Linked DNA regions of Homo sapiens: all the other regions are linked to region 4. Evidence: promoter capture Hi-C in human tissues and cell types (Jung and others, 2019). All regions are on one chromosome and are shown on one strand. The core of a region is centred on a gene start or on the middle of the fragment in contact, and the rest is flanking DNA. Distances in the headings are between cores, read along the strand shown.

Region 1 (2,700 bases), core at 170-2,669, 320 kb before region 4:
TCAGGTACTGTTCTCAGAAATGTTTTAAACAGATGGGCATGGTGGCTCACGCCTGTAATCTCAGCACTTTGGGAGGCTGAGAGGAGCGGATCACCTGAGATCAGGAGTTTGAGACCAGCCTGGCCAACATGGTGAAACCCTGTCTCTACTAAAAATACAAAAAATTAGCCAGGCGTGGTGGCAGCACCTGTAATCCCAACTACTCGAGAGGCTGAGGCAGGAGAATTGCTTGACCCCGGGAGGAGGAGGTTGCAGTGAGCCAAAATCGTGCCATTGCACTCCAGCCTGGGCAACAAGAGTAAAACTTCGTCTCAAAAAAAAAAGAAAAAGAAAAATGTTTTAAACAAACCCATTGTCACAATCAATACATTGATACATTGTACAATAGTTAGTTTTAGTGTATCTCCTCCATTAAACTTTAAGCTCCTGGAAGGCAGGGTCTGTATTTATTTTGTTGTACTGATGTATTTTGTTGTACTGAGTACTGTTGTTTGACAGTACTCGGGACCTGATAAGTACTTGGCACCTAATAAGACACTCAGGAAATGTTTGTCAAATCAAAGAACAAACAAATGAACAAATATATGAATGATTTCAACCAGGAGACACCGAACTAAGAAATGAAGTCATTCATGTCTTTTTGAATAAAGGTAATTATTTTAAAGATGGAGCACCCCATTTCCCACTGAATTGGTCATTATAAGCCTTGATAAATCCTCCTGGTAGAAAGAGCATTGCCTGGAAATCGGAGACCTGAAGTCTAGTCCTGTTCTGTCATTACCAAATAACAAAGTCAGTGATTTGTATTTATTAAGTGCTTGATATGTCCCAGGTACTTTATTTGTATTTTCTTGTTTAATCCTCAAAAATAATCTTACCAAATAGATATGATTAGCAACCTCATTTTATTGAGAAGGAAGCTGAGGTTTACCTAGGACAGGTGAACTGCCCAAGTACCATACTAGCTGAGAGAGATCTGAACCCAGGAAGTGCAGAGGCTGCCAACCAGGCTGTCCAGTGGTTCTCCATTCTGCCTGCTGTTTGAATCACTTTGAGACTGACCAGGGCCCAACTTCAGAATCCTATTAACTCCTCTGGATGAGCCCTGGCCATGGGGCTTCTTTTTAAATGCCTTCCAGCAATTTTAAAGTGTGGCCAGGGTTGAGAACTTTCGCCCTAGGCTCTCTCTACTCTATGCCATTGTATCCTCCCAAAAGCCACTTCTCTGTGCTTCAGTCTCTTCTGTACAAAGAGGTGGCTGAAGCCACCTATCTTGGCAATAATTCTAGCTTGAATGCCTACAAATTATCCCTGCCCTTGCTCCACTTCCCACCTTAGGCCCTGGCAAACAGGGGACTCCTAGACTCTCCACATCTGACTCCAGACAGCTTTCCCCTGAAGTTTTCAGCCTCCACTACAGAAAACTTGGGGCTGGGATAAGCTAACACAGTCTTATTTTGTTAGATGCTGTACAGCAAGTAAAAGCTGTAGCTTCTTAAGAATAAGGAGGATAAATGTAGCCCAACGGGTGCCCCTTGTCAGCCCTAATTGAGGATGGTCTTTCGGCACCAGGTAAAGGGAGAGAGAGTACAGAAGCAGAGTCCCCTGACTGGTAAACTAGCCCTTTCATAGAGCAACATGGTCTTCTCAGCCCTGCCTCAGAGGGATGGGTTTGGAGAAGCAGAAGATCCAGTCTGTTTTCTTGGGAAAGGAAACTCCAAGAAGGAGAACAGGAGAAAGCTGAGCAGGTAAAAACTACTGGTGGCTCAAGGATATACTATTTGCATAGGTGAATCCCTGGGCCAAGACCTGCCAGTCCGTGAGCAGGAAGGGATTGCTCCCATTCCCAGTGCTCTTGGGAGGCTCTGAGTCTGACTAGCTCCAAGGCCAGTGGGGACAAGGTGGCTTTAGCATGACACCTATGGCACTACCCAGACAAGTCTCTGGCTCCTCTGTAAGGCCTAAAGCTCAAGCCAACCAGAAAAGTCTTATGTCCAAGAATAACTGAGACCAGCCTCTAACTCTTAGGACCATTCTACCCTGGTCTAGGCACAAAGACAGGAGGTACAGTGTCTTCAGGTCGATACACTTGGCAATTCATGTAAAGAAACTGGAGCCTCTCTTGGGCCTCTGCCATGCTCCCATAGCATCCCAAACTTTTCACACTCAACGCACTTTATTTTGATTACCTGCTTATGTGTCCATTTTCCCCGTGAGACTCTAAGTTCTAGGAAGGCAGGGAATGTGCCTGTCTTGTTCACTGCAATATTCCCAGCTCCTAGCCCGGTGCCTGTCTCATGGTAAGAGCTTCATAAATATTCATTGAATGGACAAGTGATTAAATGTAAAGGTTATCTCATAAGCGAATAAGCAATACTTGCTACCTACTCCATGGGAAAGTGCTGAGCCATGAGTTGCTATGCTTATTATAAGAACTCTCCCATTATAGACTAAACACAGGCTTATTTGGGTTAAAAAAAAAAAAGATGCCTATTTTTCTGACAGTTTGTTGTTTTCTTCTAAAGTCCATATAATTTTTAATAAAAGCGAACAAAACCAAACAGTGGTTTCAGTGTTTGGGGTTGTTTATAAATACACTAATACTGAAGGCCCACGGAGCCAGCCCTGTTAATAACACGGGCCTGGCTGGCTGCAGTCCTGGTCACTGCTCCTAGGAGTCTCCATAGCAGCAGGGGAAGG
Region 2 (2,700 bases), core at 142-2,641, 300 kb before region 4:
AATAGGTGGTTATCCTATTATTTAGAGAATAAATTTTTATGAGAGAAAAAAATAAAGCTATTGAAACTATAATATGACTTACTAATGGCAGGTCCTGTGAAATGAAAAGTTTTGCAATATAGAAAAATATTGTGTTTTCTCCTCATGTTTCTTTGCCGAAAGGTACACTTTATCAATTGTAGTTTATTACTAAAGACTTGGAATTCCAACTCCAGGACCCTTTCCTTCTCTACAGAAATGCCAGTTTGAATTGTTTATAGTTTGAATTGTTTTGTGTGCTTATAGTTATGTCAGGGTTTTTTTTGAGATTATTAGATTTTATGTCAAATTAATATATAATTTAAGTCCTAATAAAATAACTACAAAGTTACCTGTAATCATCACTTTTGGTTGCTTTTATTTTGGATAAATACATGGTCTGATCAGTTATAGGTAATATTTTATTTTAAATTCTTATTATAGATCACATATTAACTACTATACCAAAAATATAAAAACACAAACTCTCTTTAATGCATCAATTTAAAAAATAACCTTCTTAAGTCCCACAGGGTTTATCTGATAGAAAATACTATTTAGATCTAATAAACATACACCTTGGTTCTAAGCGTGTGCTGTCCACTATGATAGTCACTAACTACTGTGGCCGTTTAGTACCTGAAGTGTGGCTAGTCTAAACGGAGCTGCACTGTGAGTGTCCAACAGGCACCAACTGTCAGACAGTGCAAAAAAAAAAGGAAAAAACCTCAATTATTAATTATTTTATATTAACATGTTGAAATGACAATATTTTGGATAAATTGGGCAAAATAAAATATATTATTAATTTCACTTGCTTCTTTGTATTTTTTAATTTAAAATAACAGATGTGGCTCACGTTCGTGGTTCCCCTCATATTTCTATTGAATGGCACTGTTCTATTTTAATTTGTTTTTCATATTTTATTTTATGTTTCCGTATTTTATAATGATTTTCATTTATTTTACCATGTTTAATAATCACAATTTTGTGGAGTAGACATTTTCATTGCCATTTTGCAGATGAGGAAACTGAGACTCCAGTGAGGAGGCAGACTGTGTAAAAACCCACAGATTCTGATTTCACTTCCGTTGCTTTTTCCACACCACCTGTACTGCTCTACTATTAAACATGGATGCAAATTAAAGGTAGCCTTTGGGATGCATATTAAAATGTTTCTAATGAATTTCCATACAAAAGAAATAGAATCAGTTGAACAACAAAGAGTGAAAGGGAATGGATCTATTTACTTTTCTGGATTCATTTTGCCTTTTTTTTTTTTTTGTCCTTTCTATCTGATACTGATTGCCTTTGCACCCAGAGTCATTTGGTTTTATGTTGTTTGCAAAAGCCTTTTCAATCCCGGGCATCAAAGGTACACAGAAGGGTTTACCACAGGTGCTGTCAGAGTGTCAGATACCTCTTAAACGTTTTAATAGAATTCAAATATGTTATATAATAATTATGTATGGTTTACATGTTCTTTGGTGGCATATAGATTGGTTGGCCTTTCTTTGGGCAAGGAACTCAGCTTTACTCAGGATTGTTTTTGTAAGACTATTTCCTCAAGATATTCTGTATAGTCAAGAATCTCTCTGTCTGGTCTTTGCATTTCACATTGGCTTATGTATGTCATAGGCCATATTTGGGCATTTCAAATAGACAAAGGTAGAATTGATAGAGGTTTGTGGTGAGGTTTTTTAGATTCATTAGGAGAGAAAAAAAAAATCCCTTTCTTGAATTGGATGAATGTAGAAGAGCAAAATAAAGAAATGAAAATCCCAAACTCTCTTCATTTAATCAGCCAAAAAAAGATGCTTGATAAATAGAGTAACTTCATTCAAACACAAAATAGATTACTTTATTACAGAAAAGGGTTTATACATTGTTTAAAGGGTTTAAACATTGTTAAAATGGGGTTTGACCTGTATGAACTTTAAAAGTAAGTAAGATAGCTGTTAAAGTTAGGGCAAACATTTCATTCATTCATTTATTCAACAAACATTTACTGTCTGCCAAACACTATGTTCAGGTTTTATATGGGTTATCCCATAACTTTTTCTTGAAAATACTGTTATTCCTGTTTTATAAATGAGAATACTAAGGTTAAAGGGATTAAGTGATACGCTGTGGTCCATGACTATTTTGAGATGGAAACACCACTTGAACCAAGAAACCTTAACTTCGAGACCCAAGGCCCAAGCAGTGAAGTACTAGCAGTAAATAATGCATTTGAGCCAAGTTTATCATTTACAAACACTTAGTTATTTTAGAGTACGCTCCAAGGTTTAAAAAGCAAGTTTTTTTAGCCTTGAGATTCAAGCATATATCAGTTATTAGAGAGATTAGTTTTTACCAGATTAAAAACTAATTTAACAAAAAGCTGAATTAGACCACTTCTTTTGTAATATTCCCATATAGTAATCACTTACTGTGTTTTTCATTTCGCAACTAAATAAGATATTAGCATATGGAAATATATTTTCCCAAATATAATACTTAAGTTATAGACAGCAATGACATGGGGATTCCTTTCTTTTCTTGCTTTTTCAATTGAGACGGAGTCTTGCTCTATTTGTCCAGGCTGGAGTGCAGTGGCACAATCTCGGCTTATTGCAGCCTCCACCTCCCAAGTTCAAGCAATTCTCCTGCCTCAGCCTCTGAGTAGCTGGGATTATAGGT
Region 3 (2,700 bases), core at 121-2,620, 350 kb after region 4:
TAACTAGCTAAGTAATACTTCAAGTAGAATGGCAAATAAACACTATCAAGCATGCAAACATAAAACAAGAAAACCAGAATTCAGCATCAGTCTTTCCTGAAATAGTCAAGTGAAGATAAAATTAAATAAGCAAAACGATACAGCAAAAAATTCAGGGATAGGGAAAATGTGGCAAAAGGTGTTAAGTGCTGAATTTAACTCCCAGACTAAGTAGCCTGGGAGTTATAAAATAAGATGTAAATATTATAAACCTTGGTAAAGCTGATATAAAACTATATCATTAAAAACTGGTGAGAAGAAGTGATAATTTCTTCATCTTTTAGAGCATGGCATGAATTAATACTGATTAAAATAAAAATAAAAGATGCTGTTGTAAAACATAACCCCAATCTCTATCTCTTTTCTTAAACTTGGAAGGATGGCTTAGGAATTCTCCTTTATAGTAAAGAAATATTCTGGCCAGGCGTGGTGGCTCACGCCTGTAATCCCAGCACTTTGGGAGGCCGAGGCGGGCAGATCACGAGATCAGGAGATTGAGACCATCCTGGCTAACACGGTGAAATCCCATTTCTACTAAAAAATAGAACAAAAATTAGCCGGGTGTGGTGGTGGGCACCTGTAGTCCCAGCTACTCGGGAGGCTGAGGCAGGAGAATGGCGTGAACCCAGGAGGTGGAGCTTGCAGTGAGCCCAGATCACGCCACTGCACTCCAGCCTGGGCGACAGAGTGAGACTCCGTCTCAAAAAAAAAAAGAAGAAATATTCTACTGAAATTCTCTTTATTCTGCTAATGTCAAGTAAAATTAAATTCAATTTTTATTTAAAATGGCATGTTATATGTTAATTTTTTTCTATATGTGCATAGGAATATGACAGGAATCCTGCTTACCTACTACAAATAATGATTATTTTCTAGGCAATTGACTTGGGGGCTGTTTTTTTCTTTATTCTTTCTACTTTGTACTACTGCTTAAATTTATAAAAGAATAACAAATAAGTAAATCATATAAGTGACTGAAGGAGCACTAAAATACACAAGAAAAAGCATGTGTTCTGGAGCTGGACAGTGCCGCTTACTAGTTGTATGACCCTAGACAAGCAGCTTCCTGAACTTCCTTGATTTTAACTGTCAAATGGAAATATAAATGTGTAAACTTAACGGAGTTGTTATTAAGATTGAGATAGTGTAAAATAATAATTATACCTCTCTTACAGACAGGAATCTGGCACATGGCAGGCCCTTAACAAATGTTAGTTTTCCTAGAGAGCTCAGGTTCCAACAACAGAAAGAGAAAGAAAAAGTGGAATTACCACTCTGGGTTTTAGATTTCTTTTTAACTGTATCTTTTAACCTTTAGTCAAGAGTTAAATGAATACTTATTTTAGTTCCCAAGATTTGTGTGGCTGAGGATTGTCAGCTTTGTTAAAACACAGTGATCAAAAGGCACCGTCAGGGTTTCAGGGTTTCACAGCACAAGCCTTCATGTGGTTCCAGTCTCTCCTTTCCTCCTTCAGAGATCAACAGCTTCTTCACTCAATGCAAAGAGAACACTGTGTTAAAACCCCTCTTTCCCCCCTTTCTCCCACTGAGATGCTGACGGAATCTACTGCATACTCAAAGTACAGCTCATGATTAGCGAAGAAAAGCCACCGCCACAGAACCAGGCCAGGTATCTTTTAAAAATAAGTAAATAAATGACAGACCCCACCCCAACCCTGACTCCCCTCTTTGAGTCCCATAAAAGTATTGTTGTATAATCAGATGTTTTATTTATAAACAAAGATGAAAATGTTTTTACAGGCTGGGCGCGGTGGCTCACGCCTGTAATCCCAGCACTTTGGGAGGCCGAAGTGGGGGGATCACGAGGTCAGGAGATCGAGACCATCCTGGCTAACACGGTGAAACCCCGTCTCTACTAAAAATACAAAAAATTAGCCGGGTGCAGTGGTGGGTGCCTGTAGTCCCAGCTACACGGGACACTGAGGCAGGAGAATGGTGTGAACCTGAAAGGCGGAGCTTACAGTGAGCGGAGATCGCGCCACTGCACTCCAGCCTGGGTGACAGAGCAAGACTGTCTTAAAAAAAAAAAATGTTTTTACATATGAAATCTACAATTTAAACGATAAGCTTCAGAATATACCTTATTTCAGCATACTGGCAGGTAGTTTAGAAGCTTTAAAGGAAAGTCCTGCAGTCACTGGCATTATATGATGTGTTTAATCTTTCCTAGTAATATGAAGAATGAAAAAGCATCTAAGACTTGGGTGAGAAGTGAGACAGCGTAAGTGGCACAGATGTTCCGAAAGGATAGTTAAGTGAACGACTGATGAAAACACCGAGCCACTAACCACCACAGAACTCTCTAAAAATAACTCAATATCAATACTAAGATAACTAAACTCAAGTTACAAGAGAATCTGCTTCAGGGAAGAACAGACATACAGTTTTTGTACTAGATACGATATTCCTGGTGCAGCTCATAGGAATCTTTTGAATTAAAAGCAGCATGATGACTGTATGGGATAGTTTCATGCCAAAATAATCAGCGGAGCACTGGAACTGAAATATAAAGACTAACACCAAAGCTGCTAGAATTTGAATGACCCATGAACTAATTTAGCATTAGTGACACAGATAAAAGGGGGGAAAATACTAGTTGGGACGAATGGCACTCCCTTTTGAAGGATGAAGTCTATAATG
Region 4 (2,700 bases), core at 144-2,643:
TCACCAACAAGCAGCTGCCACATGTGTGGAAATCTTTACTGATGAAATAATTTTAGTTGCAGATCATCACAATCAACACTCTGACAACAAATTTATCAGAACGGATGAAAACATCTAGGAATTACCTAAGAGTCGTTTAAGGAGACATAAGGGTGGCCTTTGATAAGAGGTCACTTCAAACTTTCAGAACTGACAAGACGTATAGCCTCCCCCCAAAAAATAATGCTATGGGTAGATGGATGCTTTTTTCTGAAGGAATTTTTAGCATTTCATTTGGAAAAGTTCTGTGATCAAATAATGCTAAATGTTATGACAGCTTTCTTGGCGTTTAAAGGGATTCTCTGGGTGAGGGGAAGGGGTGATAAAAAAAAAAAAAGTCTGCTTTTGGAACAGAAATGGGGGACAATAACCAAGGCTCAGAAACCCAGAGTCAAAAAATTAAAAGAACATCTTATTTTAAAAAAAAAGTCAACAACCTGCAATGAAGTCACCGTACCCCCATAAAATCCCAACTGTGCATTTAAATCTTTCTACCAAAATTCACTTTTGGACCATCTTATGAAGTTGTCAAAATTTCAGAGGCAAACGCTTAAATCAAGATCAAAAGCCAGGAGGAAAAAAGAGCTAACAGTTTCCAACCCAAACTCTCTCCGAGCCCCCTAAAAACTGATTTATAACCCTGTCATCGGTAATTTTAGAAGAAGCGAACACTGACGGACGGGGGCTTGGGAAAACAGGACTCCAGGTACCAAGCAGGCTGCCTGACGCGCCACCTGAAAAAGGTGAGGGAACTCTTCCCCACCCCAGTCACTGTGAAAGTAGCGCTGAGAGAGCCCATCCCAAGCCTCCACCAAACAAATTCCTAGAAGTGATAAAAACAGACAAGAGACGAAGAGGGGCGGGCAGATCCTCTCCGCGGGCAGGGAGCTGGAGCAACTGCACCCGAAGGTGAGCAGAGGGCAGCAGGCTCCGACCCTCCGCCGCGAAAGGCGAGGCGAGGGGAACAGCGGGCGCCGGACTCCTCCGACAGCGGTCGCAAGGAGGGCGGCTCCAGGTCCCCACACGGCCGACCCTCAGGCCAAGGCGCGCCGGGCGGCAGGTCAGAGTTAGGAATCAAGTTGCGGGCCGGGCCGAGAGCGCGCTCTCCCGCCCGCGCCAGGGACATTCGCCCCTCAGCTCTCACCTCCCCCCGACCCCAAGCTCTCCCTCTGCGCCCAGGAAACGGCGCCCACACTCCAGAGACCCTCACCCGGAGCCCGTCGCCGCCTCACCGCGTGTCTCGGACTTCTTGGGAGCCACCGCTGAGGGGAGGGGGGAGGAGGGGGGAACGGAGGAGGGAGGGGGCCAAGCCCGGTGTAGCCGCCGCCGCTGCCGCCGCCGCGATGCCGCTTCTGGAATCGCGCTCTCGCCGCCGCGACAGCGACCGCCGCCGCCGCGTCTCCCCGCCCCCACGACCGCACGTCGCCGTGACGCGCATCGCACGAGGCGGTTCGAGCCAATAAGACCACACGCCGTGCGCAGCCGCGCTGTCCTAAACCGGAAGCCGCCCCTCTGACCGCTCTAAAACCTGGGTGCATCGTGGGAGCTGTGGTTCGGCCAGGAACTTAGCGAAAACTATACTGGGTGTTGAGGGCCGGAGGAGCGTGCGCTCCTTAGGCGCTCACACAACTCCTCGGAGTTTTTTCTCCCACCGAAAAAGGAAGCAATTTGGAGCTGAGGAGGAGGGGGCCGCCCCGGCTCGCGGATGCTTTTCGCAGTCTCTATGGATACTGGCTACACACTTTGGGCAAGAGCCAGAATTTGAGGATTTAGGCTGGATCGTGTGTCTCTGCCAAGGGCTGATAGGATGCTGAGCGTCGTCTGTGAAGACTGCGGAAAGAAATCCAAAAGCATTAGCCCAGTTTTGCCCAGAGCAATAGTGTTTGCCTTTTATTACCTTATTAAAGATTATGATTTATGCTCTACCACTTCTATTTTTTTTAAAACCCAGTCACTCTTAAAATACATATAATTCAGAGCGATTTTTAAAATGATGTTAATGTAATGGTATATCAGAACCTACTTAAGCACTAAATACCTGCGTCCATTTACCCAGAATGAGTAAGTAATTTTCCACAAGTCATCTTTACGTTGAGTTCTAACTTCTTAGAAGCCAAGAACAGATTTGGTTACGTACTTATTCTATAAGAAAAGTGAATATAAGAGTTAGTCTGCGTAGAAAAATAGTTCTTTACATTCAGTAGGAGGGGGAATTTATCACATTCTTAAGGCGTAAATGCCTTAACTATCAAAATTCTTGTTATTGACTAAAGGAAATCCATACGATTTAGGGAAAGTCTGTGCCCACGGCTTACTGTCCTTACCTTTGGACCACAGCAAGAGATAACAAAGGGTGCAGGGAAAAGCTGACAGGTCTTGAGGGAGCTGGAGTCGGATATATGACGAAAAAAACAAAAATACAGAAGTCTTCATTATGGAAATGTAAGTTTTAAAAAGTAAAGCTACTAAAATCACAAAGAACATGATTAAGATGGCAATAATACAGAACTAAGGCCCACTCATTTAAGCTTGAAAGAGATAAAACTAGTAGAAATTAAAATTAGGAAATAAATGTTAAAGGAACTAATTTCCTCCAAGGAGTGGTTTACATTGAAAATATAATTTTTTTAAGTTTACATAATTTGTGAAAGACATAATAAT
Region 5 (2,700 bases), core at 84-2,583, 260 kb before region 4:
TGTTAGTAATTTTTAAATCAGTGGTTTGAGTCAGCTTTTTGGTTTGTAGACCAAAAAAGATTTAGTTACTTTGATGAAATGTACTCAACTACTCTCCAATTTTAAGTCAACTGCTTAAATTGTCCAGACATGTTATTTAAGGAATGGTTTCTATATTTGTTTATCATTGAAAGACATTAGACTATATATATTTAAACGTATAGTCAATATATTAAGCACAGAACCTTTCAATTATACAGGTGTCTTAAGAACCCCTGGTCCTGGAGGCTGGTGTTGTTAGTAATATTTAGAGCACTGAATTGTCCAACTAAGAAAAATTAAATTTTAACTTGATTTATACTCAAACATAGCTCTTAGAGAAATTTAAGGGATTTTCCTTTGTGCATGAAAATCTATCAAAAACACAGCCGTCTACCAATTAGATAAGAAGTAAAAAGGTAGTCTTTTAAAAAGACTAAAGCTTTTCTAAGCCAAAAATGAGGGGATTTTCTTTTCTATTTCAGTGTAAAACCTGTTCTGAGCCAAAAAAGATAACCAGTTCCTCTGCCATCTATGACAATCCAAATCTCATCAAACCAATTCCAGTGAAACCCAGTGAAAACCAGCAACAGCGTATACCTCAGCCCAACCAGGTACGGAGTTCTCTGCTTGTCATATTCAGTGTGTCTCTAGAATTCTTAAAGAACTTTGACCCAGAATATAGTCAGGGGAGGGCCTGGTGTTGTTGAAGAATGCTTTCAGGTAAACCCAAGAAAGCGGGATTTCAGAATACAGATTTTTTCATTATTAATAACTTACTCTTCCTAGAAGAGGGTTAAAGTTTTTACTTTTGGCATATACCACATTCTGTGCTAATCTCTTGTGAACTTGAACTCCTTAAAAGATAATGTATTTTTTAAAAAACAACAAGCCAGCACAGTGGCTCAAGCCTGTAATCCCAGCACTTTGAGAGGCTGAGGCGAGAGGATCATTTGAGGCCAGAAGTTTGAGAGCAGCCTGGGCAACACAGTGAGACTCCATCTCTACAGGAAAATTAGCCAGGCATGATGGCGTGCACCTGTAGTGCTAGCTGCTCTGGAGGCTGAGGCGGGAGGATCCCTTGAGCTTAGGAGTTTGAGGTTACGGTGAGCTATGGAATGCGCCACTGCACTCCAGCCTGGGCAAGAAAGCAAGACCATGTCTCAGAAAACAAAAACAAACAAACAAGCACCCTAGAAAACTAATAACATTGTCAGAGATGACAGAAACATTACCCATTGGGTCCATATTCTTCTGGGGTGGGTGGCTTCCCAAGGCCACCTGGGAGAACCACCAAGGACACAGAGTTGATTTGAGCACTTCTGAGCACCTCCTCTGTGCCAGATGCAGAGCTAGCACTGTAGACTGGGGTAGCTGCCGCCGAGAGCTCAGAGTCCAAAGGAATGGTATAAAACTCCTCTTCAGATATGATGACTTGTCACTGTCTTTGCAATCTAAATTAGAAATATTACAGCAGCTTTTGTGTTAGTGTATATATATATATATATACACTTCAGAATAGTACAGCAATGACAAAAATTGTCAATCTGTAGGTCCCATTAATGATTGTAAATATAATATTGCTGTGTCATTTTATCATGACTATGACTAATTAAAAAGATTTTCTTAAAGGAATTAGTTTATATCAATTTTGAAAATGAACATGGAGCCAAAAGACATAAAGACTAGTAATGAAAATCTTATATTGAATTTTTAAAGAAAAGAAGTCTTCTAATTTTTTAGCTTTCTTTTTATTGCTTGTTTTATGGAAAGTTTTTATTATATTTTAATAGCGAGACCTGAATATGTTGACTTTAAAATGAAGCTTGTGGTTTTTTTTCTTTCCTCTTTTATTTTTTTTTTTGAGACAGATTTCATTCCTGTTACCCGGGCTGGAGTGCAGTGGCACCATCTCAGCTCACTGCAACTTGTGTCTCCTGGGCTCAAGCAATCCTCCCACCTCAGCCTCCCAAGTAGCTGGGACTACAGGCGTGTGCTGCCACATCTGGCAATTTCTGTATTTTTTGTAGAGATGGGGTTTTGCCATGTTGCCCAGGCTGGTCTTGAACTCCTTAGCTCAAGCAGTCTGCCTGCCTTGGCCTCCCAAAGTGCAGGAATTACAGGCATGAGCCACTGTGCCTAGCCTCATGTTTTCTCAGTGCAACAATGCAGAAAGCAACAGAAGTAAAGAGCAAGAAGGAAGTAGCTTTGTAACTGGCTGGGCCAAGGTAGATTTTATGTATCCAAGGACTTTTTAAATCCTACCAGTATATATTTGAAAGGATCAAGTTAGATTTAAAGTCTTCCGTTTCTTTCCAGCCCTTGATTTCCATAATTCTGTGAAAAACTACTAGAAATTCTGAAATGCTTATATTCCTTTGTATTCTCATATTACTCTGCAGGCTTAGATGGGCTTCCTATTGAACAGATTGTTTATTTTTTTAGTGCATATAATTTCCTACCAAGGTGGTTCCCAATCTGTGAAACCCCAGGCCCTTGAAGATCTTATACCTGTTTTATCGGTCAACAGATATTAAAATATAATAACTGTTTTGGGGGTGCAAGGGGAGCATGCTGTGAAAATTTTTGACATTAAAAAGGGGATCTCATTTTTCAAGTTTATTATTATTATTTTTCATTCTCTCTAATCAATCCTTTGTAAATAGAATAAGTCATCAGATA

Evidence for each region. Contacts are between HindIII fragments. The study calls those that stand out against the background at their distance.
Region 1: a contact is called between a fragment that was not itself captured here and the fragment with the promoter of ADIPOR2 in region 4, in 1 of the 25 tissues and cell types used here (lymphoblastoid cells).
Region 2: a fragment that was not itself captured here is called in contact with the fragment with the promoter of ADIPOR2 in region 4 in 1 of the 25 tissues and cell types used here (spleen).
Region 3: a fragment that was not itself captured here is called in contact with the fragment with the promoter of ADIPOR2 in region 4 in 1 of the 25 tissues and cell types used here (aorta).
Region 5: a contact is called between a fragment that was not itself captured here and the fragment with the promoter of ADIPOR2 in region 4, in 4 of the 25 tissues and cell types used here (IMR-90 fibroblasts, aorta, hippocampus and 1 more).

The regions. Positions count from the first base shown.
Region 1 is chr12:2,014,060-2,016,759 of GRCh38, reverse strand. It overlaps CACNA1C-IT1 (CACNA1C intronic transcript 1), which reads right to left and starts at 89. Exons shown (of 3, transcript XR_001749433.2): 1 at 1-89. It also overlaps a transcript of CACNA1C not described here. The HindIII fragment of the contact is 3,786 bases long and covers 1-2,700 here.
Region 2 is chr12:1,989,587-1,992,286 of GRCh38, reverse strand. All of the region lies in intron 3 of DCP1B (decapping mRNA 1B), which reads left to right. It also overlaps a transcript of CACNA1C not described here. Among named protein-coding and RNA genes, the nearest start is that of DCP1B, 14 kb to the left of the region's middle. The HindIII fragment of the contact is 7,991 bases long and covers 1-2,700 here.
Region 3 is chr12:1,343,240-1,345,939 of GRCh38, reverse strand. All of the region lies in intron 15 of ERC1 (ELKS/RAB6-interacting/CAST family member 1), which reads right to left. Among named protein-coding and RNA genes, the nearest start is that of LINC00942, 160 kb to the left of the region's middle. The HindIII fragment of the contact is 3,540 bases long and covers 1-2,700 here.
Region 4 is chr12:1,689,763-1,692,462 of GRCh38, reverse strand. It overlaps ADIPOR2 (adiponectin receptor 2), which reads right to left and starts at 1,393. Exons shown (of 8, transcript NM_024551.3): 1 at 1,272-1,393. RefSeq lists silencers at 1,091-1,180, 1,201-1,500 and enhancers at 999-1,577, 1,661-1,710, 1,731-1,890. The HindIII fragment of the contact is 10,259 bases long and covers 216-2,700 here.
Region 5 is chr12:1,953,364-1,956,063 of GRCh38, reverse strand. DCP1B (decapping mRNA 1B) reads left to right here. Exons shown (of 9, transcript NM_152640.5): 6 at 504-632. Among named protein-coding and RNA genes, the nearest start is that of LINC00940, 18 kb to the right of the region's middle. RefSeq lists an enhancer at 808-2,007. The HindIII fragment of the contact is 3,737 bases long and covers 1-2,700 here.